Regions from separate parts of the Homo sapiens genome. Here regions 2, 3, 4, 5, 6 and 7 are each linked to region 1. The links are contacts of gene promoters, found by promoter capture Hi-C in blood cells and fetal thymus (Javierre and others, 2016). All regions are on one chromosome and are shown on one strand. The core of a region is centred on a gene start or on the middle of the fragment in contact, and the rest is flanking DNA. Distances in the headings are between cores, read along the strand shown.

What was found. The method cuts DNA at HindIII sites, captures the fragments that hold promoters and counts their contacts. A CHiCAGO score of 5 or more calls a contact.
Region 2: a fragment that was not itself captured here is called in contact with the fragment with the promoter of TOMM20 in region 1 in 17 of 17 cell types (erythroblasts, naive CD8 T cells, activated CD4 T cells and 14 more); the score reaches 15.2 in erythroblasts.
Region 3: a fragment that was not itself captured here is called in contact with the fragment with the promoter of TOMM20 in region 1 in 10 of 17 cell types (neutrophils, erythroblasts, naive CD4 T cells and 7 more); the score reaches 10.4 in neutrophils.
Region 4: a fragment that was not itself captured here is called in contact with the fragment with the promoter of TOMM20 in region 1 in 1 of 17 cell types (monocytes); the score reaches 5.8 in monocytes.
Region 5: a contact is called between a fragment that was not itself captured here and the fragment with the promoter of TOMM20 in region 1, in 1 of 17 cell types (fetal thymus). The highest score is 5.1, in fetal thymus.
Region 6: a fragment that was not itself captured here is called in contact with the fragment with the promoter of TOMM20 in region 1 in 1 of 17 cell types (total CD8 T cells); the score reaches 5.6 in total CD8 T cells.
Region 7: a contact is called between a fragment that was not itself captured here and the fragment with the promoter of TOMM20 in region 1, in 1 of 17 cell types (monocytes). The highest score is 5.4, in monocytes.

What each region holds. Positions count from the first base shown.
Region 1 is chr1:235,126,468-235,130,741 of GRCh38, forward strand. TOMM20 (translocase of outer mitochondrial membrane 20) reads right to left here and starts at 2,370. Exons shown (of 5, transcript NM_014765.3): 1 at 2,128-2,370. The coding sequence starts at 2,248. SNORA14B (small nucleolar RNA, H/ACA box 14B) reads right to left here and starts at 1,470; the gene lies at 1,336-1,470. LOC105379283 (a long non-coding RNA gene) reads right to left here and starts at 1,734. Exons shown (of 2, transcript XR_949295.4): 1 at 1,162-1,734; 2 at 452-502. RefSeq lists enhancers at 2,098-2,317, 2,548-2,647. The HindIII fragment of the contact is 4,902 bases long and covers 436-4,274 here.
Region 2 is chr1:234,480,321-234,484,594 of GRCh38, forward strand. No RefSeq gene overlaps it. Among named protein-coding and RNA genes, the nearest start is that of TARBP1, 3.3 kb to the left of the region's middle. The HindIII fragment of the contact is 2,467 bases long and covers 680-3,146 here.
Region 3 is chr1:234,504,951-234,509,224 of GRCh38, forward strand. No RefSeq gene overlaps it. Among named protein-coding and RNA genes, the nearest start is that of LINC01354, 25 kb to the right of the region's middle. The HindIII fragment of the contact is 2,446 bases long and covers 1,101-3,546 here.
Region 4 is chr1:235,754,947-235,759,220 of GRCh38, forward strand. It overlaps LYST (lysosomal trafficking regulator), which reads right to left. Exons shown (of 53, transcript NM_000081.4): 23 at 4,026-4,274; 24 at 2,335-2,512; 25 at 532-701. Among named protein-coding and RNA genes, the nearest start is that of MIR1537, 96 kb to the right of the region's middle. The HindIII fragment of the contact is 1,073 bases long and covers 1,332-2,404 here.
Region 5 is chr1:235,729,495-235,733,768 of GRCh38, forward strand. It overlaps LYST (lysosomal trafficking regulator), which reads right to left. Exons shown (of 53, transcript NM_000081.4): 34 at 4,009-4,197; 35 at 1,538-1,683; 36 at 1,353-1,449; 37 at 102-163. Among named protein-coding and RNA genes, the nearest start is that of GNG4, 82 kb to the left of the region's middle. The HindIII fragment of the contact is 7,638 bases long and covers 1-4,274 here.
Region 6 is chr1:234,528,622-234,532,895 of GRCh38, forward strand. It overlaps LINC01354 (long intergenic non-protein coding RNA 1354), which reads right to left and starts at 3,158. Exons shown (of 3, transcript NR_038426.1): 1 at 2,907-3,158; 2 at 2,405-2,560; 3 at 1-1,721. The HindIII fragment of the contact is 530 bases long and covers 1,468-1,997 here.
Region 7 is chr1:235,709,760-235,714,033 of GRCh38, forward strand. LYST (lysosomal trafficking regulator) reads right to left here. Exons shown (of 53, transcript NM_000081.4): 43 at 2,298-2,438. Among named protein-coding and RNA genes, the nearest start is that of GNG4, 62 kb to the left of the region's middle. The HindIII fragment of the contact is 645 bases long and covers 1,491-2,135 here.

The sequences.
Region 1 (4,274 bases), core at 1,120-3,619:
ATAAATTTTACAAAAACATCAAACAACAAAATATTTCTACTCATAAAAATATCTCATCCGGACGCGGTGGCTCACGCCTGTAATCCCAGCACTTTGGGAGGCTGAGACGGGCAGATCATGAAGTCAGGAGTTCGAGACCAACCTGGCCAATATGGTGAAACCCTGTCTCTACTAAAAATACAAAAATTAGCCTGGCATGGTGGTGTGCGCCTGTAATCCCAGCTACTCAGGAGGCTGAGGCAGAATTGCTTGAACCCGGGAGGCGGAGGTTGCAATGATCCGAGATCACCCCACTGCACTCGAGCCTGGGCGACAGAGCGAGACTCAAACAAACAAACAACAACAACAAAAAATCTCTAGCATTCATCAATTACCATGTGTGAGGAACAGGACTAAAACTCTACACTATACCATTTTACAAAAAGGGAAAACTAAAGCTTGAAGTTACTTGCCTAAAGTTACTGCTGCAGCTAAGTAATTCACTGTAATCATTAGGTTGCCGCTAAATCCAGAAAAAACAATTTTAGATTGAAAATGATGGAGAAGTTATTTTGAAATAACATTCCTCCATTTGTCTAAAATGATAGCTCTTGTTTCTGCAACAGGACTTCAGGGTTTCCAACGGAAGATAGGGTTAATCCATTCTTTATAACTCTGCATTTGTACCAAAGCCCCCAGCTGTCACCCATTTTGGCAACTACAGGACAATAACCCGAAGGCAGAATGACCACCAGCATTTATGGAGGAGCATTTCCTATGTCAGAAAACGTGGAAGGCAATTCAAACATCTCAACCTTCACAAGATCAACAAGAGGTAGGTGGCATTACCTGATTTTACAACTACAGAAATTAGGATTCAGAAACCCCAAATTATGCCGCTAACCTGGCCCTAGAAATTCAAGGTCTGAATGTAAAACAGTATTCTATTAGTCTGCCTAGTCATAAATCAAATTATGTCTATATCCCTTCCCTCCTAAAACATAAGAAAGCTGGAACTAGATGTCTGATTCTTAGTGCTAGTAAGATCAGCGCTGCAGTCACTGCTCACACAGGGCTACTGAACACTTGAAATGACTTAGTATAGCTGAATTAAACCGTAACCACTGTTACTTAAGTAAACAATAATCCCTTCTTTGTACCCCTTGGGCTTTAGTAACTTACGTATCAATTTTAATTCCAAAAACTAATTTGGCTGAACAACCAAGATAAGCCAAAAAATATTTCTTATTGCAACAAATTTGCTCTTCAATGATGCGAATGAAGATTCTCCGAAAATTCAAGGTGGATCACAACGGTTTTCATGACACGATTCCCCTCTGGTAGACCTCTCTTAAAAGATGTCGCAGGTATGAAATAAGACTGAGCCACGGGAGAAGCGCAGCCCTTTGGACTCCCCTGCAATTTCTATAGCATTCACTCATATCTTGGAAGCACTTAGAACGAAGCTACCAAGAGGGTTTAAGAATGCAGCAATGAGCCAGGCGGATCATCTGAGGTCAGGAGTTCGAGACTAGCCTGACCAACACGGTGAAACCCCGTCTCTACTAAACACAAAAAATCACCGGGCGTGGTGACGCCCGACTGTAATCCCAGCTACTGGGGAGACTGAGGCAGGAGAAGCGCTTGAACTCGGGAGGCGGAGGTTGCAGTGAGCCGAGATCGCGCCACTGCACTACAGCCTGGGCGACAGAGCGAGATTCCGTCTCAAAAAAAAGAATGCAACAATGATACTGCACTGAGCATGCGGATTTAGCCTCAGACTAAAATTTGCGACAAAAATGCACGACTTTTTAGTTAAGAGTAGAGGTTTAAAAAGATGAACGACAAAAAAAGAGACAACCTCCTCCCCAGGCCACACACACCCGAGATTGCAACAGAAATCAAGAGTGCATTTGCACGGCTAAAGTGTCTGGGGAAAACAAAACGGGAAAAATCCTTCCTCCAAAATGGAATTCCTACGGGGCACTAGAGCCCCCGGAGCGGCGCAGCCAGCGCCATCGCCTATTGAGGGCCGCACCACGCGGTCGCCCTGCGCGGCCCACAGGCTGGTGGGAGGCAATGACCCCTCCTGTGAAGGGCGGCGGCCGAAGGCAGCAAGCCTGGCCAGGGGAGAGAGGACCCACTCACGTTCTCGAAGCCTGTTCTTGAAGTTGGGGTCACTTCGTCTTTTGCGGTCGAAGTAGATGCAGTACCCAATGAAAAGGGCCCCGCATACACCGGCGGCGATGGCGCTGTTCCGACCCACCATCTTCTCTACAACGCTGAGCGTGGACGGTGGCGGCAGGGACCGCGAAGGAGCGGTGGGCCACGAACCCTCAGAGCGGTCGGCGCAGCTCACACCCGACGGCCGCGGGCCAGGAACACAGAAAGGCCGAGCACACGCCACTTCCGGTCCCAGTCAACTAAGGGCCTCGAGGTCGTCCGCGGCAGAGCCTGAGCAGAGGCCCAGAGCGCGGCTCCTGCGCCTGCGCAGTGGGCGAAGCCGGCGTTTCCCCTGCGCCGCTGGGTGTACGCACTGGAGTCGGGAATTTGCACGTGACCACGGACTTTTTTTCATATCCGCCGACCATGCTGTAACGAGGCGTACGCGTTACTGGCGTGCACGTACTCAGAAGACTAGCTGACAGCCTTGTTTGTGGCAGACAGAGATGCAGGGTCCCAGACTGCGAATGCTTCATCTTGTCTAACACAGGCAGCCTGTGACTTGTTTGAATTAAACTGTACTTTCTTTTCAGGTTGCCACAATCCATTGTGCGTAGTGGTTCCATTTCAAAAGAATGTTACAGGATAGCCTCATTTTATGATAACTGGAATAAAATTAAATGGAGTAATTTCTTGAAAAATATACACAATTGAAGAAAAAATAGAAAACGTGAATTGTTTTATAGCCACACGAAAACATACACATGATCAGGCCAGGCGCGGTGGCTCACGCCTGTAATCTCAACACTTTGGGAGGCCGAGGCAGGCGGATCACTTAAGGCCAGGAGTTTGAGACCAGCCTGGCCAACATAGTGAAACCCTGTCTCTACTAAAAATACAAAAATTAGCTGGCCATGGTGGCCGGGGCCTGTAATCCCAGCTACTCTGGAGGCTGAGGCGGGAGAATCGCTTGAACCAGGAGGCAGAGGTTGCAGTGAGCCAAGATCGAGCCACTGCACTCCAGCCTGAGTGACAGATCAGGAGTCCGTCTCAAAAAAACAAAATATATATATATATGATCTAACTTAAGATATTGACAAGGAAAATCGTGGGCAGAAAGCAGGCATTAAACAGACACTGTAAGTTGAGGGGTATCGAAGTCAAGCATCAGTGTCAAGAGACATTGGAACCAGAGCTACCTTACCTTGAATAGGGGCTGGGTAAAATGAGGCTGAGACCTATTGGGGCACATTCCCAGGAAGTTTGGCATTCTTGGTCACAGGATATTTACAGGGAAGGGAACAAGTTAATAATGTTTACCTAACAGACCCAGGAAATGTCCTGATGTCCTGATATCTTAAGAACAAAAGCATTCTTAGTTTAATTTTCCCTTTAAAGATAATATTGATCCTTGCAGAAGACAGTAGTTACACAGGATTAACAGTCCTTTGACAAAGACCAGGCAGTGTCTCACACCTGTAATCCCAGCACTTTGGGAGGCCCAGATGGGCGGATAGCTTGAGCCCAAGAGTTCAACACCAGCCTGGGCAACATGGTGAGACCCTGTCTCCACAAAAAAATTAAAAACTTAGCCAGGCGTGGTGGCACACACCTGTGGTCCCAACTACATGGGGAATGATGCGGAAGTATCCCTTAATCCCAGGAGGTTGAGGCTGCAGTTGAGTTATGATTGTACCACTGCAGTCCAAACTGGGTGACAGGGTAAGACCTCGTCTCAAAACAAACACACAAAAAATCCTTTGTCACAAGCTCTTGGAGTAGAGCTCATCTTCCTCATTTTTTTGCTGTTCAATACAAACAAGCCTTGTACCTAAGGTGGACATGTTCCTTCTCTTGCTTTAGGGTATGCACCATTCTACAAAGTAACCTTTCACTTTTTTTTTTTTTTTTTTTTTTTTTTGAGACAGTCTTGCTGTCACCCAGGCTGGAGTGCAGTGGCATGATCTTGGCTCACTATAACCTCCACCTCCTGGGTTCAAGCGATTCTCCTGCCTCAGCCTCCCCAGTAGCTCGGATTACAGGCATGTGCCACCACACCCAGCAAATTTTTGTATTTTTAGTAGAGATGGGGTTTCACCATGTTGGCCAGGCTAGTCTCAAACTCCTGACAT
Region 2 (4,274 bases), core at 663-3,162, 650 kb before region 1:
CAGGGTCCCAACTTCAAAGAGCTTGACATATAATAACATAATGGATAAGACAAAAATTAGTTATTTAAATTTACAGTTATTTTTATATAAAGTTATCTGACTTTAAGGTTATCTGACATTACACAGGCAAGACTTTTTTCATATTTCAGTCATTCCGTTTTTCATTGACAAAATGCATAAATGTTTCTATTTTAAGCCCTTTTAACATGTCAGTAAATATCAATTACCTTCAACATAAAATGTGCAGAAAACTATTGTTTCTGTCAACATATATCTAACAAATATAAATGGGTAAATGTCTTGAGCACTTAACAAACGAAGATACACAAATGATAAGCACTTGGAAAAGTGTTCAACATCATTAGTCATCAGAGAAATGCAAATTAAACCCACAATGAGGTACCACTTCATACTGATGAGAATGGCTAACATGTAAAAGCTCGAAAACACTAAACGGCAAAGACCAAGGGTGTGGAGCAACTGGAATTCTCATACATTACTGGTGGGCATGAAAACGGTACAGTCACTTTAGAAACTGTTTCTCGTAAAGTTATAATATAGCTGCTTTATGATTCAGCGATTTCACCCCCAGGTAATTACCTAAAATAAATGAAAACATGTTTCAAAAAAAAAAGCTTGCAGAAGAATGTTTTTGACAACATTATTCGTTATAGCCAAAAGCTTATAACAACCTAGTAGGTGTTAGGTAACAACCTACATGTGCATCAAATTGAAGAATGAATAAAAAATTGTGATCTATCTATATAATAATGCTCCCAGCAATAAGACAATGAATTGCTAATCCGCTTTACATGGATAAGTCTCAGAAACAATATGTTAAACAAAGGAAGCCAGTCACAACGTTTACATCCTCGTGATTTCATTTATATGAAATCCAAGAAGAGACAAAAGTAATCTGAAGGATAGAAATGAGAACAGTAGTTGCATATAGGGAGTAGAGATTTGACTAGAATTGGGCACAAGGGAACTTTCTGGGGTGATGAAAATATTTTATGTTGATCAGGGTGTTGTTACACATTTGTCAAGACTCCTTGAACTGAACCCTTAAGATCTATGCATTTCGCTCTGCAGAAAGTTTACCTCAATCAGCCGGGCGCAGTGGCTCACACCTGTAATCCCAGCACTTTGGGAGGCCGAGGCCGGTGGATCATGAGGTCAGGAGATTGAGACCATCCTGGCCAACATGGTGAAACCCCATCTCTACTGAAATACAAAAAAATTAGCTGGGCATGGTGGTGCACGCCTGTAATCCCAGCTACTCGGGAGGCTGAGGCAGGAGAATTGCTTGAACCCAGGAGGCAGAGGTTGCAGTGAGCCAAGATCACACCACTGCACTCCAGCCTGGAGACAGAGTGAGACTTGGTCTCAAAAAAAAAAAAAAGAAAGTTTACCTCAATCTTGAAAAATGACTTATACCAAAAAACAAAACAAAACAAAACAAAACAAAAAAACAAGTTGGCCTATGTGTTTTATTCTCTGTTGCCTTCAGAGTAAAGCCTAACTGCAGAGCACAGCATTGAAGGCTTATTGGGATTGGGGAAAAGCCAGCTGGCCTCACAGCCTGACTCCCCCTTCTCTGCCCCAGGTCAGGCATGTGGAACTCTCCTTCTTACCCACAACATGTTTGCACTGTCTTCTCTCCCGGAATATTTCCCGCAACACCACTTTTCTGATTCACCAATGTGGGCAGCGATTCCTAATTGCCAGAGCTGCCCTTTTTCGTTCTTACCTGAATGGACTCTGTGGAGTATTTCCTATTTCTTGAAACACTATCTCACTCTGGTTTTCATCGATGACTTTGTCCTGTTCTTTCTTTTCTCTGCTTCCTCAGCTGTTTCTTCTCCCTTTCTTTCAGCATCTTATTTTTCCTCCTGACCTGTCCATAGTGATATTTCCAGGGTTTTATCTTCAGGTCTCTCTTCTCCTCACTCTGTAAATTTTCTCTGAATAACTTCATTAACACTATAGATCTGATTACCATTTACATGCTAATGATGAAAAAGTCTGTATCTCCAGCCTAGGTCTCTCTCCTGAGACTTATCCTTAGGAGATAGCTCGAAACCTATTTCTCCAACTGCCTACCACACGTCTTCATTTGAATATTATTCAGGACATCATTCTCAGTCTCCACTTTTACAAATCTAACTTCATTCCCTTCATCCCTTCACCCAGCATCATTACTCCCCACCGATGTTCTTCTTCCCAGGAATTCCCTGTTTAGGGAAATGGCCATCATTCCCAAGTTGCCCAAGTCAAAAACCTGGGAACCAATACACTTCCTACTTGATTCTCACATGCAATCACTCCTCAAAGTTTCCATGCAACTTTCTAAATCTCTCGGTGATCCCTCCTCTCTGTGCCCCACTAATACCTTACTTAGTTTTAGACCCTCCTCATTTCTTGCCAAGATAATAGCAATCACCACCTACCCCACTCCCAGCTATATCACATTTAAGTAACGCTTATCGAGTGAATAGCCATCTCCTACTCCTTTATGAAGACCCAAATTTCAAGGCATCTCTCTAAGAAGCCATTCCTAGTGCCCCTGGTCGTGTAATACATACTCCGTATTGGTACTAGGATGATCTTCCTAAAATTACATCATTGGCTACCCAGAGCCCTCAGAATCATGGTTGAGTTTCTTAGCATATCATCCAAGATGCCTCAAGATGGAATGCCTGCCTAATTCTCCATCTTCACACTCCTGACAAGCCCCATTTACACCTTAATTTTGAAGTCCCTAAAACATGTGTGCTCTCACTTTTCTTTGTGTTTTTTCAAAAAAAGCCCTTCTCTCTTTTGGAAAGCACTTACCCCTTCTCCACCTGACTTTTTTTTTCTTTCAAGACAAAGTTCAAATGTTATCTCTCCAGAAAGTCATTTCTTAATACCTTTCTCCTGCTGCTAACACCCCAGTTAAATTAGGTGACCCTCTTTCAAATTCCCCAAACATCCTGGCATGTCACCAACACAGCAATGGTCACACTGTGTTGCAATTGCAGGTTATTTCTCTGCCCCCTACTCCTCCTCTCTAAGCAATTTGAGGGCTAGGCATGGGGTATGAGGTTTTGTCTGCTATTATACTCATGCCAGTACCTCATCTCAGACATAGCACACTTCAGTAAAGCTTTTTTTTTTTTGTAGATGGAGTCTCGCCCTGTCACCCAGGCTAGAGTGCAATGGCGCAATCTCAGCTCACTGCAACCTCTGCCTCCAGGGTTCAAGTGATTCTCCTGCCTCAGCCCCCAGTGCAGCTGGGATTACAGGCACCCACCACCACGCCCAGCTAATTTTTGTATTTTTAGTAGAGACGGAGTTTCTCCAGGTTTGCCAGGCTGGTCTCAAACTCCTGACCTCAGGAGATCCACCTGCCTCGCCCTCCCAAAGTGCTGGGATTACAGGCGTGAGCCACTGTGCCCAGCCCAGTAACACTGAGTGAATAGCCATCTCCTCCTCTATGAAGACCCAAATTTTAAGGCATCTCTCTAAGCAGCCATTCGTAATGCCCCTGGTCATAACTTACTTCTATTTCTGTATTCTCCAAACTTTTTTTTTTTTTTTTTGAGACGAAGTCTCACTCTGTTGCCCAAGCTACAGGACAGTGGCACGATCTCGGCTCACTGCAACCTCTGCCTCCCAGATTCAAGCAATTCTCCTGCCTCAGCCTCCTGAGTAGCTGGGATTACAGGTGTGCACAACCACACCCAGCTAATTTTTGTATTTTTAGTAGAGATGGGGTTTCACCATGTTGGCCAGGCTGGTCTTGAACTCCTGACTTCAAGTGATCCACCCACCTCAGCCTCCCAAAGTGTTATAGGTGTAAGCCACTGCGCCCAGCCTTCCTCAAACTTTTAATTGTAGTAATAATAATGGCTAATCGTTACCACACTTATTAAAGACCAGACATGGTAATATCTATCTGTATATATATTATTGCACTTCACCCTCAAAACAACTCATAAACGAAGTGTTTTTACTTTTCTTATTTTACAGATGAGGAAACTGAAAATAGGAGAGGTTGAGTTACTTGCCCTGATATTACAGGATGAAAAAAGCAGCAGAGCTGTCTGACTCAAAGGCTGTGGTATTTTCTGCAATACCTCCAAAACATCCAGAAAGAAAAATATACAATTGCCACGTCCAGTGTACTGCCTGTAGAAATTCTAGATCATAGATGTCTAGCACATAGTAGGTACTCAGTAAATTATGGTTGTATGAATGGATGGAGGTGTAGTTTCTGCAACTACTTATGT
Region 3 (4,274 bases), core at 1,074-3,573, 620 kb before region 1:
TGAGCAGAGGAGTGACTGTGAATAGAATGGGAGGCAGGTTCGTCCTAAGCAGTTCTGGGCTTGAGTTTTCCTTAGTGATTTTGGGGGTCCAAGATGTCTTCCTTTCACCACACTATCCCAGCCATAACATGAGAGAGAACAGAGCAGAGAGAGAGAGAGAGCTAGTGTGAGCTCTGGCTAACCACTTACTGGCTCAGCCACCTGGGTAATTCGCTGCATCTTTTGGCCTCAGTTCTTTTTTCAGTTAGATTTCATTCTCTGGAACCACATGATGGGTTGCATTGTGTTTCCCAAGAAGAAATGCTGAAGTCCTAACCTCAGTACCTGTCAACATGACCTTATTTGGACATAGGGTCTTTGCAGATGTAGCCAAGTTAAGATGAGGTATGCTGGAGTAGAGAGGGCCCTTAATTCAATATGACTGGTGCACTTACTAAAGGAGGAGAGATGCCGAGACACAGACACAGGAGGGGGCAGGCCATGGGAAGACAGAGATTGAAGTGCTGCAGCTACAAGTCAAGGAGCACCTAGGGTTATCAGCATCACCAGAAGCTAAAAGAGGCAAGAAAGGACTCTCCCCTGCAGGTTTCAGAGGGAGTGGGTCCTGCTGACACCTCGATCTCAGATTTCTAGTCTCCAGAACTGTGAGACAATAAACTTGTGTTGTTTCAAGCCACCCAGTTTGTAGTGCTTTGTTCCTGGCACTCCTAGGAAATGAAGACAGTGCTATGGGGGAGGAGTTGAAGACCCTGGGCTTTGAAATCAGATGTGGATTTGAATGAAGTTTCAATCACATACCAGTTGATGATGATTTGGGCACATTTCTCACTAAGTCTCATTTCTTTCTTGAAACCTAAGTGGCCCATAAAAGGGAAATGATGAAACTAATCTTGTTAGAAGGGCTATTGCAAAATGAAATGAGACAAGGTGTGTATATTAGTTAGGAATGTTTTTATTGAAAGGAGAAATTCAACATGACTCAGTAAAAATGGGTCTTTGGTGTAAGAATTGTGGGATGTCTCAATCCAACTTGGCCCTAGATTCTAACATTGGCAGCTCTTCATTTTTCTTTCCTGCCCCCCTCTGAATATCTGAACACAAGCTTCTTCTTCCATTCCCCTCTCTCTCCCTTCCATTAAACCAGGTGCCTCTACTTTTCCATTCTTCCAAACTTTGCCTCCTACAGCTTTAGCCGCCTGGAAGAAACTAATTTGAACCTCCCTCTTCAATATATACTGCTTGGGTGATGGGTGCACCAAAATCTCACAAATCACCACTAAAGAACTTACTCATGGCCGGGCACAGTGGCTCACGCCTGTAATCCCAGCATTCTGGTAGGCTGAGGCGGGCGGATCACGAGGTCAGGAGATTAAGACCATCCTGGCCAACATGGTGAAACCCCGTCTCTACTAAAATACAAAAAACTAGCCGGGTGTGGTGGTGCACACCTGTAGTCCCAGCTACTCAGGAGGCTGAGGCGGGGGAATTGCTTGAACCTGGGAGGAGGAGGTTGCAGTGAGCTGAGATCGCGCAACTGCACTCCAGCTTGGCAACAGAGTGAGACTCCGTCTCAGAAAACAAATAAATGAACAAACAACAACAACAACAACAAAAAACCGCCTGTTCCCCAAAAACCTATGGAAATAAAACAATTCTTTTAAAATAATAATTTGAACCTCCCTCACCTTGCAAATCCAAAAGTCCAATGGGAGTGGGAGAGATGTAATGGTCCACTTGAAGTCAGATGTCCCACCCTCACCCCAACCAGCTATGCCCAGAGAAGAGGTTTGTATATTCCCAAACGCATTGCGAAAATTACAGGAGACAATATATAAAAATTACTTTGGAGAACTGTGACAAGTGTAGTGTCGTTATTTCCTATTTGATTTGTTATTATTATTTTTTGATAGAGTTTTGCTGTTTCGCCCAGGCTGGAGTGCAATGGTGCCATCTCAGCTCACTGCAACCTCTGCCTCCCAGGTTCAAGCGATTCTCCCACCTCGGCCTCCCGAGTAGCTGGGATTACAGGCTATTTTCTATTTTAATTCATCGCTCCATAATGGGGACTTTCCATCTTTCTGCCTCCTCTACTCCCTCAGCCCTGCCCTGCTGCCCTTCTTTCCACTCCACCCAAATCCTTCCTGGGCTTCAAGTCCTTACTCAAATCTTTCCAATCCACAGCCATAGAAGTCTTCTCTATTTGCAAATTCCTATTACCCTTAGAGTTGATTTCTCTCACAGTTAAGTCCTTAATTGTCTTCTAATTGGTCCTTGGCCTAGATCCTAAGTCACCAGAGGGCAGGAAGCATGTCTTCTTGTGCTCCTAGAGCCTTGTGCTGCTTCACATATTTCCAGGCACTAGGAGGTGCCCCTCTGCAGTGCTGGTCCTGTCCCACCCCCCCCCCGCCCCACCCCAAGGGTTCCTTGGAAGTTGTTGCCTGCAGGCTTCCTCCCCACTGACCTGGAACTCCAGAGAGGCCCCAAGATAAACACAACGAAAGCCCTCAAATCTGCAAAATCTGCAAAAGATTTAGATTAGGGGTGTCCAATCTTTTGGCTTTTCTGGGCCACTCTGGAAGAAGAACTGTCTTGGGTCACATATAAAATACACTAACACTAACGACAGCTGATGAGCTAAAAAAAAATTGCAAAAAAATCTCATCGTGTTTTAAGAAAGTTTCTGAATTTGTGTTGGGCCGCGGGTTGAACAAACTTGATTTAGACCGTGTTACTGCTACTCAAGGTCTGCAGGGCTGTTTCCCTCACATTGCGCATGATGTAACCAGTTCACCTAATTGCAACCGATTTCAACTTCATGCTATTGGATTTGTTTCCCTAAGGTATCAGATTCCAGAAAGGTCCTACTCTTCCCCAAATCAGCTGGGGAGGTGCGCGCAGCCTATTTTCTACCTGCTTTCTGGTTTAGTCTTGCTCAGAAGCCTGGGCAGGCCAAGTGGGTGCTCCCCTGGGCTGATCCTGACATTGGGCCACAATGGGAGATGTGGTGGAGGAGCGTTATTACTAGGAAGCAAATTAGAACCTTTATCATAAGGAGGCAAAGTCTTGCCTGGGAAGAAAAGAGCACATGCTAAGTTAAGGTAAAGAGACCAGGACAAAGAAAAAAAAAAAAAGCTAAACATAAATTGCAAGATGTTCAGGCATGGTGAAACTAAAATAGCTCTTTCTAGATTGTTCCATCAAAAAAATTCAAAATACGATACGTTCATTGAAGCTGAACTTTTGTTCTCTCCCTCCCACCCTTCTTCATTCCTTTCCTTCTTCCTTCCCTCTCTTCCTCTTTCTTTCTGCCCTTGTTTGCCACTTGACTAAGCAAGAACACAGCCACATATTCCAGCTTTCGGCTTATGGAGAGTGCTGGAAAACTGAATCACTCATTATTTAGAAGATTCACCTCAATGACCTCCCAATCCCTCCCAACTCGGAGGTTCTGTGGGTCTATAGAATGCCCTGGTGAAAGAGAAAGAACACAGGCTTTGAAGTCAGACCAGGTATGTCCCATTTCAGACCAGGTATGTCTGACTTCAAAGCTTGTGTTCTTTCCTTTCACCAAGGCATTCCATAGACACACAGAACCTCCGAGTTGGGAGGGATTGGGAAGTCATTGAGATGAAGCTTTTTGTTTGTTTGTTTTTGAGATGGAGTCTTGCTCTGTCACCAGGCTGGAGTGCAGTGGCGTAATCTCGGCTCACTGCAACCTCCGCCTCCCGGGTTCAAGCAATTCTCCTGCCTCAGCCTCCCGAGTACTGGGACTACAGGCATGCGCCACCACGCCCACCCAATTTTTGTATTTTTAGTAGACACGGGGTTTCACCATATTGGCCAGGATGGTCTCGATCTCTTGACCTTGTGATCCGCCTGTCTCAGCCTCCCAAAGTGCTGGGATTACAGGCATGTGCCACCGCGCCTGGCCGAAATGAAGCGTCTTAATAATGAGTGAATCCTAGTTCTCATATTTACTAGCCGTGTGACTTTGGGCAAAGTACTTAACCTCTCTGAGCCTAGATTCCTCATCTGAAAGCCTGGCCAGTGCCAACTACCAAGTTGTTGACATGAAGATTAAATGAGAAACTACTTATAACACATGGAGCTAGAATGGAGATGGAAGACTAGGTCCCAAAATCTGCTGCTGGGAAAGCAGAGGAGAGAAGATCAGGCTGCAGAGTGGGAGGTTTATGGGACTGGGTGGGTGAACAGAGGATTTGGCATTGTTGCTTAGAAAAGCTACTTGGGGCCGGGCGCGGTGGCTCACGCCT
Region 4 (4,274 bases), core at 618-3,117, 630 kb after region 1:
GCCTGTAATCTTAGCTACTCAAGAGGCTGAGGCAGGAGGATCCCTTGAATCTAGGAGTTCAAGGCTGCAATGAGCTGAGGCATGACTGTGTCTCTCTGCACTCCAGCCTGGGTGACAGAGTGAGACATTGTCTCAAAAAAAAAAAAAAAAAAAAAAAAAAAAGCCAGGCATAGTGGCTCACACCTGTAATCCCTGCACTTTGGGAGGCCAAGGCAGGCAGATCACGAGGTCAGGAGTTTGAGACCAGCCTGGCCAACATGGTGAAACCCCATCTCTACTAAAGATACAAAAAACTAGCCGGGCATGGTGGTACGTGCCTGTAATCCCAGCTACTCAGGAGGTTGAGGCAGGAGAATCGCTTGAACCTGGGAGGCGGAAGTTGCAGTGAGCCGAGATTGCACCATTGCACTCCAGCCTGGGCAACAGGGCGAGACTCCGTCTCAAAAGAAAAGAAAAGAAAAGAAAAGAAAAGAAAAGAAAAGAAAAAAGACAAAAGATTCCCAATTATAGTGGAGGGAAGAACACACTTACTCTTCATCAAGGCCAATATGTCGACCAAAGAACATTTCGATGAAGCATTCTAACAATTCTTGAGTTCCTCGATGAAGATACAACTGGTTGGCTAGCAAGGAAAATCCACGATTCTTCAGAAATTTATCTTTTTGTTCCTTAGATGCTCTAGCAAAATATGCATCTAATAGCTAAACAAAAAATTTAAGTCAATTTAGATAATGCATTAAAATTAAATATAATATATACAAATCAGTGTAACACAACTGTATTTGTAAATTAAGTTCATATGTACAGAAGAACACAGAAAGCTTAAAAAAATGCCACCACCACAGCAAAGCAGAAATGAATTTGTCTTTGGCTACTGTGGAATGCTAATGATGACTCCATCTTGGAGATCTTAATGTTTCTCTCATGGGGAAACTGGCATTTTTAGCTGAGCATGGACACCTGGTAGACTGGCAGCCTTAGTTGAGTATAAATAGAATATTTGTACCTAATGCTGAGAGGGAAAAAATCCGTAAACTATGCTCTCTCTGCAAATCTATATCTATATCTATATCTATATCTATATCTATATCTATATCTATATCTATATCTATATCTGTATCTATATCTATCCTAGACCTCTACTTCTAGGCTTCTTGACAGATTATTTATCCTGAGCACAGGCCTGAATTTCCACCCTTCTCTAGCATCTTAAATGCAACACGTGTAATACCAAATTAATCCTTCCACCTCTTTCTCCCCTTCAATGACTCTCACAGTAGTGATAGACTCCTTTCCCCCAGACACACATCTATTTATTCCCCTACTAAAAAAGCTTTCTAAGTTTACAGCATAACACAAAATATACTTTTTCCATGAATCCTTCCGTTTCCCCTATGCTCAATTCTCTATTAATACTGCCACTGCAGTACTCATCACAGAATTTCTTACGTTTTACTTAGTTAAGTATGAGACTCTCCCTTCTAGACTGTGAAATTCTTGAATGTAGGGGCTTATATTATTTCCCTTTATATACTATATTGCAACTAGCTCAGGGACTTACACATGAAATGCGAGCTCAATACTAGGTTGTATTGCAAGTGATTAAACAATACCTACATCCAAGCAAACTAAAGAAAAATGAGAATCTTTACAAGATTATTTTAATATTGGGTTGTTTTCTAATGGAAACTATTCATATCAAGCATTTACTCATTCAATAATATACTTAGTACCTATTACACAAGATGCCCACCCTCATGGAGCTTATATTTGTGAGAAATTTAAAAAACAAGTACACAGATTAATAAGATAATTACAAGACATAAATAGGATGCTATGATAGAATAAATAATAAGTAAGATTAGAGGGAAGTTATTTTGATAAGATCATCAGGGAAGGTCTTTTTGAAAAGGTGTCATCTAAGCTGAGAGCTGAAGTAAATGTCTAAAATTTGATAGTACACTGAAGAAGAGATTTCCAATGAACCACGTATTCCTTGTAATTTTTACAAAAGAGATTTACTAAGTGTTCAGATATGGGGATTTATTGGTAGATTTAAAAGACATATTGATATGAACCAACATATGGAGGGGGACTTAAAGCTGGATGATGCAAAAATATGACCATGTAACCAAAAACCCCTGTATCCCTAAAGCTATCAAAATAAAAAAAGTTTAAAAATATATGAGTATTAAGTAACAAACTATATTAGTTCATTATTCTAAAATATAAAAGAGAGATTTAGGTCTACTTTAATGTATATACTCAAAATTTTAAATTACATATATATTTATTTTTCTGAATTAAAATAACATATCTAGTATTTGCCCTTACTTTAATAACACCTTGTTGTATAGCTGGTGATGGGTGGTTAACGAGGACCAAAAGTGTATCTGCTTGAATAAGCTTGTCCATCACATCTTCAAGCAAAACATCAGGCAGGATAAGAAGAACCCCACTTAGGAGTTCATATAATCCACAGCATATAGGTACCAAACAGTCTTCAGTTACACTAAAACAGAGACCAAAAAAGTCTTACTAACATGACAAGAAAAGTACTTGATGATTACCTTAGGAACTGTGACAAGTAGTAGCATTTTTTAACAGGTGAAACAAATGTTCATAATGCTTAAGAAATGTTTCCTAATTTAACTGTGATTAACAAATTTACCATCACTTTTTATCATTGATTTTTTTGGGCATATAGTCTACTAACACTATTCAATTGTACATCTCTGATGTCTAATACAGTAGTCACTGTCACTTATGCTATTTATTTAAACTAAAAATTCAGTTCCTCAGTTGCATCAGCCACATTTCAAGTGCTCAGTAGGCATATGTGGCTAGTGCTGACTGTATTAGACAGCATGAATAAAACATGTCCATCATTGCAGAAAGTTTCACTGGACATTGCTACTTGAGATGCTATTGGAAATGTTTTTTTTTTTTTTTTCACCAAGGAAGAAACAGCTTTATTAGGAGTCTAGGCATGTCAGAAAAACCCAGTTCACTCACAGAGAAGAGAGGCAAATATTGGTACAGGGGAAGAATCTAGCATTACAGAATATCCTCTCAAGAACCAAGTGTGAAAATAAAACCTCCATCTAAATATCCTAACAAATGCTGCTGGGTTTAGCCCAGGTGAAACTTCTGGAAGCTCCTGGTGAAAGGAGATTTTTTTCATAAAAGGAATGCTCTCTAGCACTGCTGCATTTCAGCTCCATATAAAGTTATGGGTCTGCGATAGCAGAAGTAGAGGAAAATATAAGGGGGATATCTCATCACCAAAGCAAGGTCATCTGTGTCCAGGTGACAGAGGAACCTTAAGTTTCTGGAGAGAGAACAAACTGGGGTAGCAGAAGGAAAATGGCTGAAGAAATACAACGCCTAGGCAATGTCTGTCATAACATGGAGGACTCTGTGCAGTCTGGTGACAGCCTGTCCTGGGAAACACTGGTATTGCTTTCTGAGGCCATTTTAGCTTTCTTCTGACTTCATCCAGAGAAGAACTGCCAATGTTCAGCACTAAGACCTGCATTATAATTACCTGAGTGGAATGGAGCAGCCACCCTATGACACCTGTTCCTCTTCCCTTCTGGAGCCGTCACTTGTCTCTGATCAAGTAAGATGTTACTCAGGACAGGCCCAGTCTAGAAATCACTCCCACCTTCACATGAGCACCAAGTGGACAGAATCATTCTCATGAGTCAAAGCTCTAGATAAATCCTATCGTTTCTCTGTCCTGAAGAATTTTCCTTAATAACTATAAGGAATTAAACCACAATATATATTTTTTAAGTGCTACTTATGGTTTAGATTTTGGTTAAATATGGAATTCAATATTATCTAGTCTTAAAATAAGGAAAAATATATCTTTCTGTTTGTTATTATTATGTATATAAAGAAATAAACTTTTCTGTTTGTTGTATTATAAGTGGCATAATGAAGACGTTTCCAGAGGGGTAGAGAGTCTTTAAAGAATAGTAAAATAAAGGTGGGAGGAGTGTACAAAAACACATAAGTACCTGTGAGCACTTGCAGTTCGGTTGTAATTTGGCTCATAACCAAGAGAATAGGCAAAGTTTTCCCAATCATCAGTGTTTCTATCAACAAGACTTGGCCAACGGCCAACAGCTGCAGATCCGTTCTGTGAAGGAAAAGCTAGCCCAAGGCTTGCAATAGTGCTGTGGCTTCGCTGGAAGGAGGCCAATCCCTTTAGGTAATCAGGTCGGCGTGGGCAGGACTCATCCCCAGGACTGTCATCTTCTGACCTG
Region 5 (4,274 bases), core at 669-3,168, 600 kb after region 1:
TTATCCAATTTAATGGCATGCTGTCAAAAAACACTTTAAATAATCTAAGAATCAAATAAGGCAGGGTGAATATGTGCAAAATTCTTCAAAATTTGACTTACCTAGTAACAATTCACCAGCTGTCTCTCTAGATGGTGCAACACTGATGCATCTTCGATTCACTCTGTCAAAACATATTTAAAATTACTATGACTAAATGTTCTGACCAATTTCAGAGAGGATATGCTTTATTTTACCTAGTAAAAGATTTCTGCAAAGCAGACTAGATAGAGTTCCAATAGCATGAGGTATCTTGTCGAAACCCACATGAAAATATTAGCTCCTTTTTAGCATTCTATTAGAAGAGAAATGACTGAAACGCCTAGAAAAGGCTAATAATCCCTATAACCTGTAGACAGAATATAGAAATTAAGTTATTTAAAAGAGATATCAATATTTTATATTTTCTAATAAATAAGCAAACATTGTTTCATGCCTCTGATACTTCAGATACATTTTTTGTGTGTGCTCTATTTATTTTTGTATTATTATTTTGTATTATTTATTTGTTATATACTATTATTGTATTATTTACATTATTATGAAGGTAATTTATCAAATACATTTTTAAAAAAGCCTAGTATTCTAGGAAAAACAGAGGATTTGGAATCAGAAAGTTCCTTTGTGTTCTTAGCCAATTATCTTCTTTGTGTCTCAGTTTTTCATCTATGAAATGGGTATAATAACAACCACAATAACTGCAATGATAATACTATCAATAGTTAATATATAATAACATACTTAATACTCAACAACGCTATGATACCTATTATTATTTCTTCATTTAATAGATGAGGTAACTGAGACAGAGAGGTTAGGTAACTTGCCTAAGATTAAAGAGCTAGTAAGAGCAGGAACTGGAATCTAAACCTTTAATCACTACGTTATATTGCTGCTTGATGATACCACCAGCAGCTCTATCTATATTAATAGATAGAGATGTTAAACAGTCAATTACAAAATATGTGTGTGTATACATATATATGGGTATATATATATGTACCCATATATGTGTATATATATACATATTTATATGTGTGTGTGTGTGTGTGTGTGTGTGTGTGTGTGTGTGTGTGTGTGTATATGTAAACTAACAAGGGCCAGAACATGATGACTGAAATCCCATGAACTCTTGCTGTCAGAAATGTCATTTCCTTTTGGATTTTGGCCATATAACCTTGTCCTCCCTTGAGCCTTTCCTGTTTAGGATTTTTCTGAAAATGATGGCATTATATAAAATAAATATTACATAAACACTACAATAAGCTGTTGTATATTCATGAAAGAGTGAAGGTCTATTGATTCAAAGTTACCTTATAGATTCACTTGCAGCTTTGTCTTTGACAGTAGAAGAGAAAGAAGAATGAGTTTTGTCTTCAAACAGGTAAGAGAGTGGTGGTTTGACAACATCTGTTGAGGAGAAAAGTAAATATTATCTTTATCTAATGACCATAGTTCTCTGCTATATTTATATGTTGAGTCAAGAAGCCACTATTACCTTCTGATTTCTGTCTATCCCTAAGGAGATACTTATTTGGAATAGTTAAATAACATCTCTGTAAACGTCTCCTCTCTCGATTTGGCCCTTCTGTTGGATCCAACTGCCATGAGGTTGGATAGTAGATGGGGTCATACCATACTGCTCTGCAAGTAAAAAGATTAAAGGGTGTTTTAAGTGACCATCCAGGACTTGTAGCTATAAAAAAAATCATTATAGAGATTGAGTAAGTAAGTCACAACTGATCTGTTAATTTAAAAACTCCAAATGTTTATATATTTGATCAGGGAATGCATATACAAGTAGAAGTAATAAAATCTAAGTGTCTTTTTGCTCCTGAATCCCAGTCTCCCAGTTCCTCGCCTGAAGGCAAGCTCTGCTTCCAGTTTCTTTCAACTATTAAATTTTTTAAAAGATATGTAATGACTACTATGAACACTTTAGCAACATAATACAACATGCTGGATTTAATATGGTTAGGTAAATTTTTTTTCCAAATTAATTTTTTACATTTCCCATTTTGCATTTTTTTTTTTTTTTTTTTTGAGACAGAGTCTGGCTGTGTCGCCCAGGCTGGAGTGCAGTGGCGTGATCTTGGCTCACTGTAATTTCTGCCTCCCGGGCTCAAGCGATTCTCCTGCCTCAGCCTCCCAAGTAGCTGGGATTACAGGCTCCCACCACACCTGGCTAATTTTTGTATTTTTTTAGTAGAGATGGGGTTTCATCATGTCGGCCAGGCTTGTCTCAAACTCCTAGCCTCAAGTGATCCACCCACCTGGGCCTCCCAAAGTGTTGGGATTACAGGCGTGAGCGCCCTCACCTGGCCTCATTTTGCCTACTCTCTAATGAAACAAATAAAATCAATTTCTTTCTGTGGTATGAATCACATTTTTAAAAAGATTTTAAAATAAATTTTATCTTAGATGAAATAAGACAGGAAAAACATATTAAGTACATTTTTAGAAATAAATAAGAGAAAAAAATACCCTTATTCATACCCTAAACATACCAAAATACTGGTAGCGGTTGTTGTCTTTTTTTTTTAAAACGTGCATCTGTTTTTAATTTGTAGTTATGATCATTATGATCATTTTTCTATAACTTGCCTTATTTTACTGAAACAGTATTATCTTTATCTCATCATTTTGAATGGCTGCCCAATAAAGAGGTAGATGCATTGTAATGTATTTAACCATATTACGGTTTATAACTTGTTTCTAATTCATTCACTAGCATAAATAATGCAGAGATGAAAACTTTTATGTTTACTTTCTTTTTCTTTTTCTTTTTTGACAGGGTCTCATTCTGTTGCCCAGGCCAGAGTGCAGTGGCATGTTCATAGCTCACTGTAGCCTTGAACTCCTGGGCTCAAGTGATCCTCCCGCCTCAGCCTCCCAAAGTACTAGACTACAGGTGTGAGCCACTGTGCCTGGCCTGCCTTCCATATTTCGAATATTTTCCTTAGGATAGAATCACTAAAATAGGATAACTGAAGCTAGAAGTAAAATGTTTTTAGGATGATTAATACATATTGTCAAAATGTACAATGCCACCAAAGTTCTGAGTAAGGACAGCTAATATCCTGCGGTGAATATTAGCAGCCAAAATTTTTGTTAACATAAAAAGTAAAATGTGGTATCTAGAGGTTCTAGAAAACCAAATTAGCCTCTAGCAATATTGAATATTTTCCCGTGTGTTTGGTAATTCATTTGTCTTATGTGAGGAATGTGTTCATGCCTTTTGCTCATTCAAACTTCTGGGATCATAATATTTTACTTTAGAATCTGTGTAAGTTTTTCAAACAATAAAAATAACTTTATTTGCTGAAAATATATTTCCAGGCTTTTTTGTTCTTGTTATGGTTGTTAAATACACTGGAAAAAATTAAGGTTAAAATCCATTGATTTATTTGCAGTTTCTTCTATTGCATTTGAGCTTAGAAAGTCATCTATCCTTCAAAGAGTTGACAAATATCCTATTATCTTCTACTTTATAAACTTTTCGAGTAATTCTTTTATCCATATGGAATTTACTTTAGTGTCTAATGTTTAGTGTATTTTAGTACACCAAAGTCACATGAATAAGTTATCTTAACTAAATTTAGAGAATAATACCTTGATTTCCCGCTTTTTGTTATTTGTAATACATATTTTAAATTAGTTAGAAAAATATATTTTTCTCAACCATCCTGTTTCAGTGATTTCTCTATTCTTTTACAGACCATATTTTAAAATTAAGCTAATTTTACTATCTAGATGAGCTACTGCCCCCCTCATTACTTTTCTTCCTCAAGAATTAAAAAAAACTCATATGATTATTCTTTAAGATGAAAAAAACATCACAAATGATTAAACAAAAAATTGTTTAATGAAATGATTTTATGAGTCTGAATTCCGGAATACAAATTCCGTTTAACATCAATATCTTAAATCTTCATGGAAGACAATTTTAACTGACCTCCCGCAGCTTACCTATCATGTGTCAGCTGCTGAATAAGTTCCTGCCAATGTCTGCTGGCACTCAAATCTACTTTATACATTCCTCTAATATGCTGGATCACCTTTTTTCTCTCATTTCCTTGGGAGAGAGACACTGCCTGGGTGATATCTGCAGCTATTTTAGATATATCCTTTGATTTTGAATCCAGACGCTGAAAGAGACTAAACAAATAATAAGATTGTCCATAGTTAAGCATACATGGAACGTATTTATCAGAACATGATACTTTAAAACTAAA
Region 6 (4,274 bases), core at 483-2,982, 600 kb before region 1:
TGTACCCACAGTTTGTCCTCTCCAAGCCCTCTCAGCCCATCATCTCATTCTGCCTGCTCAGCAGCCCTGTAAGGGAGGACAGGAACTACTTCTCCCACTTTCTAGATAGGAAAAGGTCACCCAGCTTGTATAGGAGGAAGTGGAAGTTGAACTTAGATGTCCCAGCTCATTTTTTCTTTCTTTTAGCCTGTGTGCTCTCGTGATTGATACCTACCCACGCTTCTCTCTACCTCAACCCATTAAGACATATTGAGGGGTAAAAAGTGACCTTTTTCAGAGTGTGCTCTGCAAGAAACTTTGTGTCTTAACAATATTAATTCGTTTCCAATCACTAAATTCTCCGTACCAATCAGTTATTTTTCTGCTGTGTGCCTATTTCTCTGCTAAGCATAATGACTGAACAAAAAATATGTATGACAACATGTCTATCCACAAGTAGCTTATTCTGGTTGCCAGAATTCTAAGATGACCCCTGATGTCCCATGCCCTTGTGTAATCCCCTCCCCTTGAGTGGTAGCAGGACCTTAATTTGCTTCTAGCCAATAGTATATGGCAAAAGTGATGGGATATTGCCCCCGTGATGATGTCACATTATCAGGCAAAGGTGAGGGGATTTTTGCAGATGTAATTAGGATCTCTAATGAGTTGACTGTAAGTTAGTCAAAAGAGAGATTATCCTGGGTGGGTCTGCCCTAATCAGATGAGCCATTTAAAAGAAGATCGAGAGGTCAGACACTAAAAGCAGCAGATTCACTCTCTCCCTTGCTGGCCTTGAAAAAGCAAGCTGCCATGAGATCCGTAGCTTGAAAGAAATGAATTCTGCCCTGTGACCTGGAGTGAGGACCCTGAGCCTCAGATGAGACCCCAGCCCCAGCTGAAACGCTGATGGAGTCTTGTAAGAGACCCTGAGCAGACGACCCAGTCACTCGTCCCCACACTCGTGGCCCATGGAAGCTGTGAGTAAATGTGTGGTATTTTAAACTGCTAAATGTATGACAATTTGTTACACAGCAATGACGATCTAGGAGGGGGGGGCTATTAGCAAGTGTTCATAAAATCTAAGATTTGTAAAAAAAAAAAAAAAAAGAGGTTTTTTTTTTTAGCTTCTTGGAATATTACATAAATAAGATGCAGAGGTGATATGTAACACTAATAACTACACTGGTTAGTAGGTAGCAGGAAAACCAGTCTTGCCATTTGGAAACAATAGTGAGAGCTGTATTTTCTTCCTCTTTCTCTCCCTGCCTCACACATACAGTTGCCCAAACCATTGCTAATAGGCAGGTCCTATTGCTAACATCAGCAATCATATTTAGACACATCAGATAGCTATTCCAAGGAGGCATTTTTAATTTCTCTCCCAGCTAAAGCTGTCACCTTGGACAGGAAGCGGTGGGTTCTGTGCAAAACCACAGGAAAAACTTTCCCTAGAACACTGGATTTCAAGAGATGCCTATGCCCTTTCTAAGCTTGTAGACACTTTAAAGCAGTGCTGAAAACTGTGCCTGGCACTTAATGGGGACACAGTAAGCGCTCAGCAAATATGGAATATGCACAAGTAGCATCAGCTTTTGAAAATGCTCTTTGCTTTATAATGTCAGAAGAAGTCCAGGTGCAGTGGCTTGTACCCACAATCTCAGCAATTTGGGAGACCGAACTATTGGGATTGCTTGAGGCCAGGAGTTCAAGATCAGCTTGGGCAACATAGCAAGACCTTGTCCCTAAAAAAACCAAAAAAACAACAAAAAAAATTAGTCAGGTGTGGTGGCATGTACCTGTAGTCCCAGCTACTTGGGAGGCTGAAGCAAGAAGATTGTTTGAGCCCAGGAGTTGGAGGCTGCAGTGAGCTATGTTTGCACCACCACACTCCACTCTGGAGTGACACCCTGTCTCTAAAAAATAAACAATAAACAATTAATTAATTTTAAAATTAAAAAAATAAAATATCAGATGAAATGGTCAGTGTATTAAACACTTATCAATGGATTCGACCCTAAAGCTTAACTTTTAGTGATTCTTTCTAATATTAGCTTTATTAACCAAAGTGTGGGATTTTCCGGTTGCTCTTTTGACGGCTAGCTGATAGGATGAGGTAGGGGCAGGGACAGGAGAGAGTTGGGTGGGGGCAATGAAAGCCCTGGCCTGGCGGACATAGTTTCAGTCTGCTCTGCAGAAGTTAAAGTACGCCTGGGAAGACAAGGCAGATAACGTAGCACGCAACTGAGCTCATGAGTGGAGGAGAGAAAAGAGAAAATGTGTCTCTGTGGGTAACCCCTGGGGGAGCCCATTTTGCAGTAAATGCAGAAACAGTATTATTAAGTCAGGATGAGCGTAAGAAGGACTGCCAGAAATAGACCCCGCCCCCACCCCCCGCACCGCCCCAGGTCACTGCACCTGCCCAAACCTTGATTCTCTCCCTTGAAAAACAGGGACGATGATAGCACCTCCCTCAGCGGGCTGCTGTGGTGAGGATTCAGCAAGATAATCCACGAGGCTTCCAGGAGATGAAGGATGCTCAGTAAATATTTGTGATGATTATTCACAGAGATGAACCTAAAAGCTAAATGCCACGAGTGACTGGCTGGATGTTACAATGTCTGGGGAATGCTTCGCAGCCTGACCCTTATTCCAGAAAGTTCTGTGAGTATCCTCATGACCTCACTGAACGTCAGCGCCGACTGCTCTTACTTAACAGGGGAGAGCCACAGACTCTGCAGTGCGTGGCAGGCAGGGCCTGTCACTGTCTACTGTTGTCGCTGTGGCTGTAGCAGTGGAGGTGGCCGGGCCTTCTTTCCCACCTCCCCTTCTTCCCCATGGTCAGCCCCGCTCCCAGGCTCCGTCTGTGCCCCTGCAGCTCCCCAGCGGTGGCCTTTTTGTTCAGTGCTTCCTCGGCGGCTGGGACTCACCCTGATTTAAAAGCTCCAGACGTGTTCTCGGCAGCCCGGGAGCACAGGAGTCAAAGCAAGACCAGGAGCGGGTTGCTGAGAGGACGCCACGCTGACTGGGGATCGAGAGGGTGGCTTCCTTCAAACAGAGAAAGGAAAAAGCCCCTTGAACCAATCTGAATGTAAAATCCAAAAGCTATGGCCACCGCGAGGAAAACAACAGTCATGATGCGGGCCAGGAGGCCGTCGCCGTGGGAATGCAGTCGGCCCTGCGCATGTGGTGTCTGAGCAGGGCCCGAGACCTTCCAGGGAGGGGAGAAATACTTTTTGGCTGACTCTCCTGACTCTGTGTTTCCTACAATTCTACAACAAAGATCCAGGAACATGAGAAAAGGAAAATGAGAAAATGAGTCCTGTGATCCAAATTTAAGCCAAGAACAGGACAGGCAATGTGAGCCAAATAGAAATGAGGCCAAGAGTGCTTTCTTGGGGCCCCAGCTTTTTTTTTTCTTTTTTCGAATGCCCAAACCTGTTTAACTGCTTAGTGTGAACTCTAGTTCTGGGATACAGTTCACTATGGGAAAGGAAATTTAATTAGCACTGGCGACCTCACCTTCATTCTTAGGTCAATACAGTAAACTGGCATATGAATAGTGATTTCTACCAATTGATTCCTGAAGGAAAAGAGAGAGAAAAGGAGAGAGGAAGACACACACACCTACACACACACACACACACACACACACACACACACACAGAGACAGAGACAGAGAGAGACAATGAGGCACAGAGAAACAGGCAGAGACAGAGAGACAGAGAGACAGAGAGAGGGGAAGAGAGACAGAGAAACAGAGACAGAAAGAAAGAGACAGACAGAGAAAGAGAGACAGAGAGGCAGAGAGAGACAGAGAAGCAGAGACAGAAAGTCAGACAGAGAAAGAAAGAGAGGAGCAAGTGACATACTTTAAAAATTATTCTTGAGAGAGGTCAACCTGCATCAGCTGCAGAAATCAACAATCACTTGGCAGTGTCAGCTGTAATACATTCCCACATTGCATTCTGCACGGGCATTGACTATCTTGACCCACACTCTCTATATCATGTTCACAGTAACGTAAGTGGTCAGATTTCTACAATTAGGCCTTGCAAGATAATAATGACAAGCCGTATTCGTATATTGCTTTACTGTTTGCAAAGCAGTTGCATAATTATCATTACGTTTGGTTCCTCATGACTGTGCTGTGAGGAAGGCGTTCCTGTTCCCATTTTAGAAGTGAGGACACAAAGTTACAAGTGTCCAAGCCAGAACCTGATGCCAAATCCCATGACATTTCTGCCGTACTGGGCTCTGCCATGCCCTGGGAGGATGGCCACCTGCAAACACAACCT
Region 7 (4,274 bases), core at 563-3,062, 580 kb after region 1:
AGTATTCTATAGTTTAAAAACTCAACTAATATAAAGTATACACATTGTTAGAATGAATTGCCATAGTCTATTAATTTTATAAGTCTATGGGTCTGTTCTGACTTCCTTTCTACTAAGCATTCCTGTAGATAGCAAAATTATCCCAACACAGGAAATAAGAGGGTTCTTCTGTGATGTAAATGAGCTAATATCTAATTGTCTCATCAGTATAAACAAAAATCTCAGAAGTGTTTATTTAAAAAAATTATCCTAAAGGAAATGTTACCTTTAAACAGAAATGGCTTTTTGTGCTACATTTTCTAGTTTGCTGAACACCATAACAAAAATTAAAAATGACCTTTTAAAAGCTGATTAAGTTCCATGTAAAATTAAGTTGCTGTCTGTCTACTTTTTGATCTTGTAAAAACAGTTAGAAGGATCTTCACCAAAATACTTGGGAAGTATTTTGAAATGATATGATATGGAATATAAATCAAGGGTTTATATAAATTCACATGGGATGGGGATGTGAGCATCTCAGAAAGCTCAGCAGTCATCGTACAGAGCAGCTGCATGGTTGATTTAGGATGGACTGGCTGAGCACCTGCAGAACTCCATGTGTGTGGCTTCAGGAGCGGCAGCAGCAGGAACTTATTTATTTAACAGTGAATGAGGCATCTGGGAATGGGCTGGGGATGGGGTGCATAAGGGCATTTGTACAAACTCAATCTTTCCCAACTTTCAGGTGTTCTGAGGGAACATCTGACTCCTGACCCAAAGCAGACAACTGACATACGAGAGTCCCAGGGGAACACTGATAGGAAATGATATGATATACGCTGTAAAAAACTGTGTTTTCCAAAAATGGCTATAACAGCATTTCCTGTCTTGCATGCCCTTCCAGAATCTTGCTACTCTCCATCACAAGGCAAAGTCTATCTTCCTTTCTTTTGAATCTGGGAAGACACTTGTGACTGCCTCAATGAATAGGAAGAATACAGTGGAAGTGATGCTGCGTGGCTGCTAAGAACAGGCTGGAAAAGGCCATGCAGCCTCTGTTCGTCTCCCTCTTGGAACACTTGTCTTTGGAACCCTGAGTTGCCAAGTAGGACATCCAGGGCTGCCGTGCTGTGGGGAAGCCCAAAACTAGCCCACACAGAGAGACCACATGAAAAAACACTGACATTGCATGAAGAGAGGGTGATGTGCTCCAGCTGCCTAAGGCTTCATCTCCTGCCTGTTCCAGCTCCAGAAAACCTGAAGGCAACAGCATGAGACACCCTGAGCTAAAACCATCTAGCTGAGCTGTTTCTGAACTTCTGACCAATTTCTTATTTCTGACCAATAAAAAATAATTTTATTATCTGTGATTGATAATAAATTTATTATTGTTTCAAGCCATTAAGTGTTGAGATTATTTGTTATACAGCCACAGATAGCTAGAACATACATATAAGAGACCATGGACAGAGAAAACAAGGAGTAGATTTAAACAGGAGTCCTAAATGAAAAGCTTCAAGGCAGGTGCCCCAAATTGCAGGTGCTGATGTTTGACTGAGGCATTTCTCACTTGAGCAACACTATGAAATAAGCTCCAGGGTGGCATGAATCTACTGATGATTCAATAATCAATCAAACAACCTCAGAGACACAGATACTATACAACAAAATTCCAATGTAATTTGCCCAACACCAACTTCTTAAAGCTGTTTCATATGCTCTTAAGGATCACATAAAATTATAGAATTAAGTAATATAAGAAAATGACCCAAAGATACCCCTTAAAGGGTTAGCTGCTCTTCTATTTAAGAATAGCTAAGGTTGGCAGCCAAGACTGTTAGTTGGCATCACAGAAAATTTGATTTTATACTCCAGTATTCCTTTTGGTTATTAGATAATTCTGGGCAGAGTATTTTATTTTTATTTTGGTCATTCCTCATAAAATAATTGAGATTTCAGTTAATTTACATTTTGCTTTCAATAAAGTCATACCTCTTATTTTTAAAGTAATTAGCACATTATAACTTTTGTATTCAGAAAAAAGAATAAAGCAATTTCTATAATAAAATTAAAATACATATTTACAAATAACTTTAATAGTTAAAAGTTACAGTTTTCCAAACATATTTAGTCCTATAAAATACTTAAAATCCTCAAGCTTATTTGAAAATAGAATTATATACTTAATAAAAAACATTTTCTCTTATTTGGGGACTCAAAAATTTTTAGGACTTAAAAAAGCTATTTTCATTTTTGGAAAATTACAAAATAACCACAAGCCCTCAGAAATATAAATTAAAAATAATTTATTGCTATACCTTCACGGTTAACTAGGAACTCTGGAAGATAGAAAAACTCTGGGATAAGTTCTTTCACATCAGTCATAGATTCAAAAGATGAGAGTCGCCAAGTTGTATTTGTAGAATGAAAAGTTCTGTCTGGAATGTCAAAACTTTGATCTATAAAAAAATACAAATAATACGATTAAGACACAAAGACCTAATTCTATTTGAGGCCTATCATAATTAATTTACTTTTGCCACTTCAAAAAGATTAAAATAATGCTAATTTTGTTTGCCCATAGTTTAAAAGAAGTTATTCATGTTCTTGAAAATAAATATTTCTATAAACTTGAGATCATATTACATTTTTCATCTGTATTATGCTTTTGTAATATATATTATTAGATTAGTTTATATCATCTATTTGTTTAATTTTCGTCTATCTATCAAAGTAGAATGAAAGTTCCACAAAAACAGGGCCCTGGGATATCACCCACACCTTGCACATAATGGGTATTCAATCATGGTTTATTTATTGAATGAATGAATAATGAAGAAGGAAGATTTAAGTTCAAGTAGGCAAACAGTTTTTTCCCCATCAGGAAGCATGATTCCTTCACTTTGAATTGTTAAGACTACTTTTTCTCCTTTCTTTTCTTTCTTTCTTTTTTTTCGGGGGGGTGCGTAGGTTACGGTGCATTGTTTTTTGGTGTTCTAACTCTGAGCTAAAGAATTGAGTAAAATTTCCTGTGAATGAAAATAAAAATAAGCATAGTCACTCTTTCGTTCATTTTTTTTCCAGGGTAGACTATTAATAATAAAGAATTAAGTTTGGACTCTCTTTTCTGCCAACAATGATCAGACTTTCTAGCCATAGGGAAAGGCCTAGAATATTAAATGATATCCAAAAGCTAGCCTCTGAAAACAGTAGCAGTTTACATGTTTCTTAGGAACCATATTGCATCATCTAAAACTCCTCTGAACTTGTTGAAATTTGAACACATCTTTTCATTTGGAGACTGCCACAAACACATCGCAGCATCAGGTTTCTTCTCCCAGCCTTAGTTGCTCTGCTGAGCAACATCTTCTGTCACTTGTATTACTTTCTCATCTATTCTGTTGAGTCAATTGGCATTGGCTGGCCACTAAAAAAAATCTGGGAAGAAATAAGGTTTAGAAACATTTACTTTTTCTCAGAAAGTAAGGAGGGCCACTTAAAGAAATACCTACTAACTTAGTAGAAAAAGTTATCAATCAAAATGGAATTCAGAAAAATTAAGGTAATTCTCAAAAACAAACAAAAAAACTAAAAGAAAAATTAAGGTAATTTTGTAAGGCTATGGTGAGGTCAAAGTATCTGGAGCTAAGACTAAGGAAATACGGAACAAGAGTAGCACATTGGGTAGGTTCTGTTCAGATTTTAAGATTCTCTGTATTTTCCTACATTTTATTAAACAGTACTACTACAAATTCCCATTATCTAGAATATGCATATATTAAACCTGTGGTTCTCAACCAGTAGCACTTTTGCCCTCCAGGGGTTATTTGGCAATGTCTAGCAACATTTTTGATTCTCACAACTGGGGGGATGGGGTGTGGGTGGTGGTGGTACCACTGGCACTAGTAGGGAGAGAACAGGGATACAGCTAAACGTCCTACAATGCACAGGGCAGCTCCCATGACAAACGAATTATGCAGCTCGAAATGACTACAGTGCCAAGGTGGAGAATCCCTGCATTAAACCAAAGCCAAGAAATAAATTCAAAAGCCAACAGATATCACTTGAAACTAATGAGATGAAAGTGAATGGAGACTGAGGTAGTCCTAGGTTTTAAACAAAATATATTCATAAATACATAATGAAGAAAACATAATATATGAATACATTCATAATAGTAACATGAATAAAAATATTGATAAATTTTAGTTGATTGGTAGTTTTATATTAATGGGTTCTTGGGCTACATTAAATGAAATGTAGTCTTGGATGGAGGGAGGTAATAGTTCTGTTAA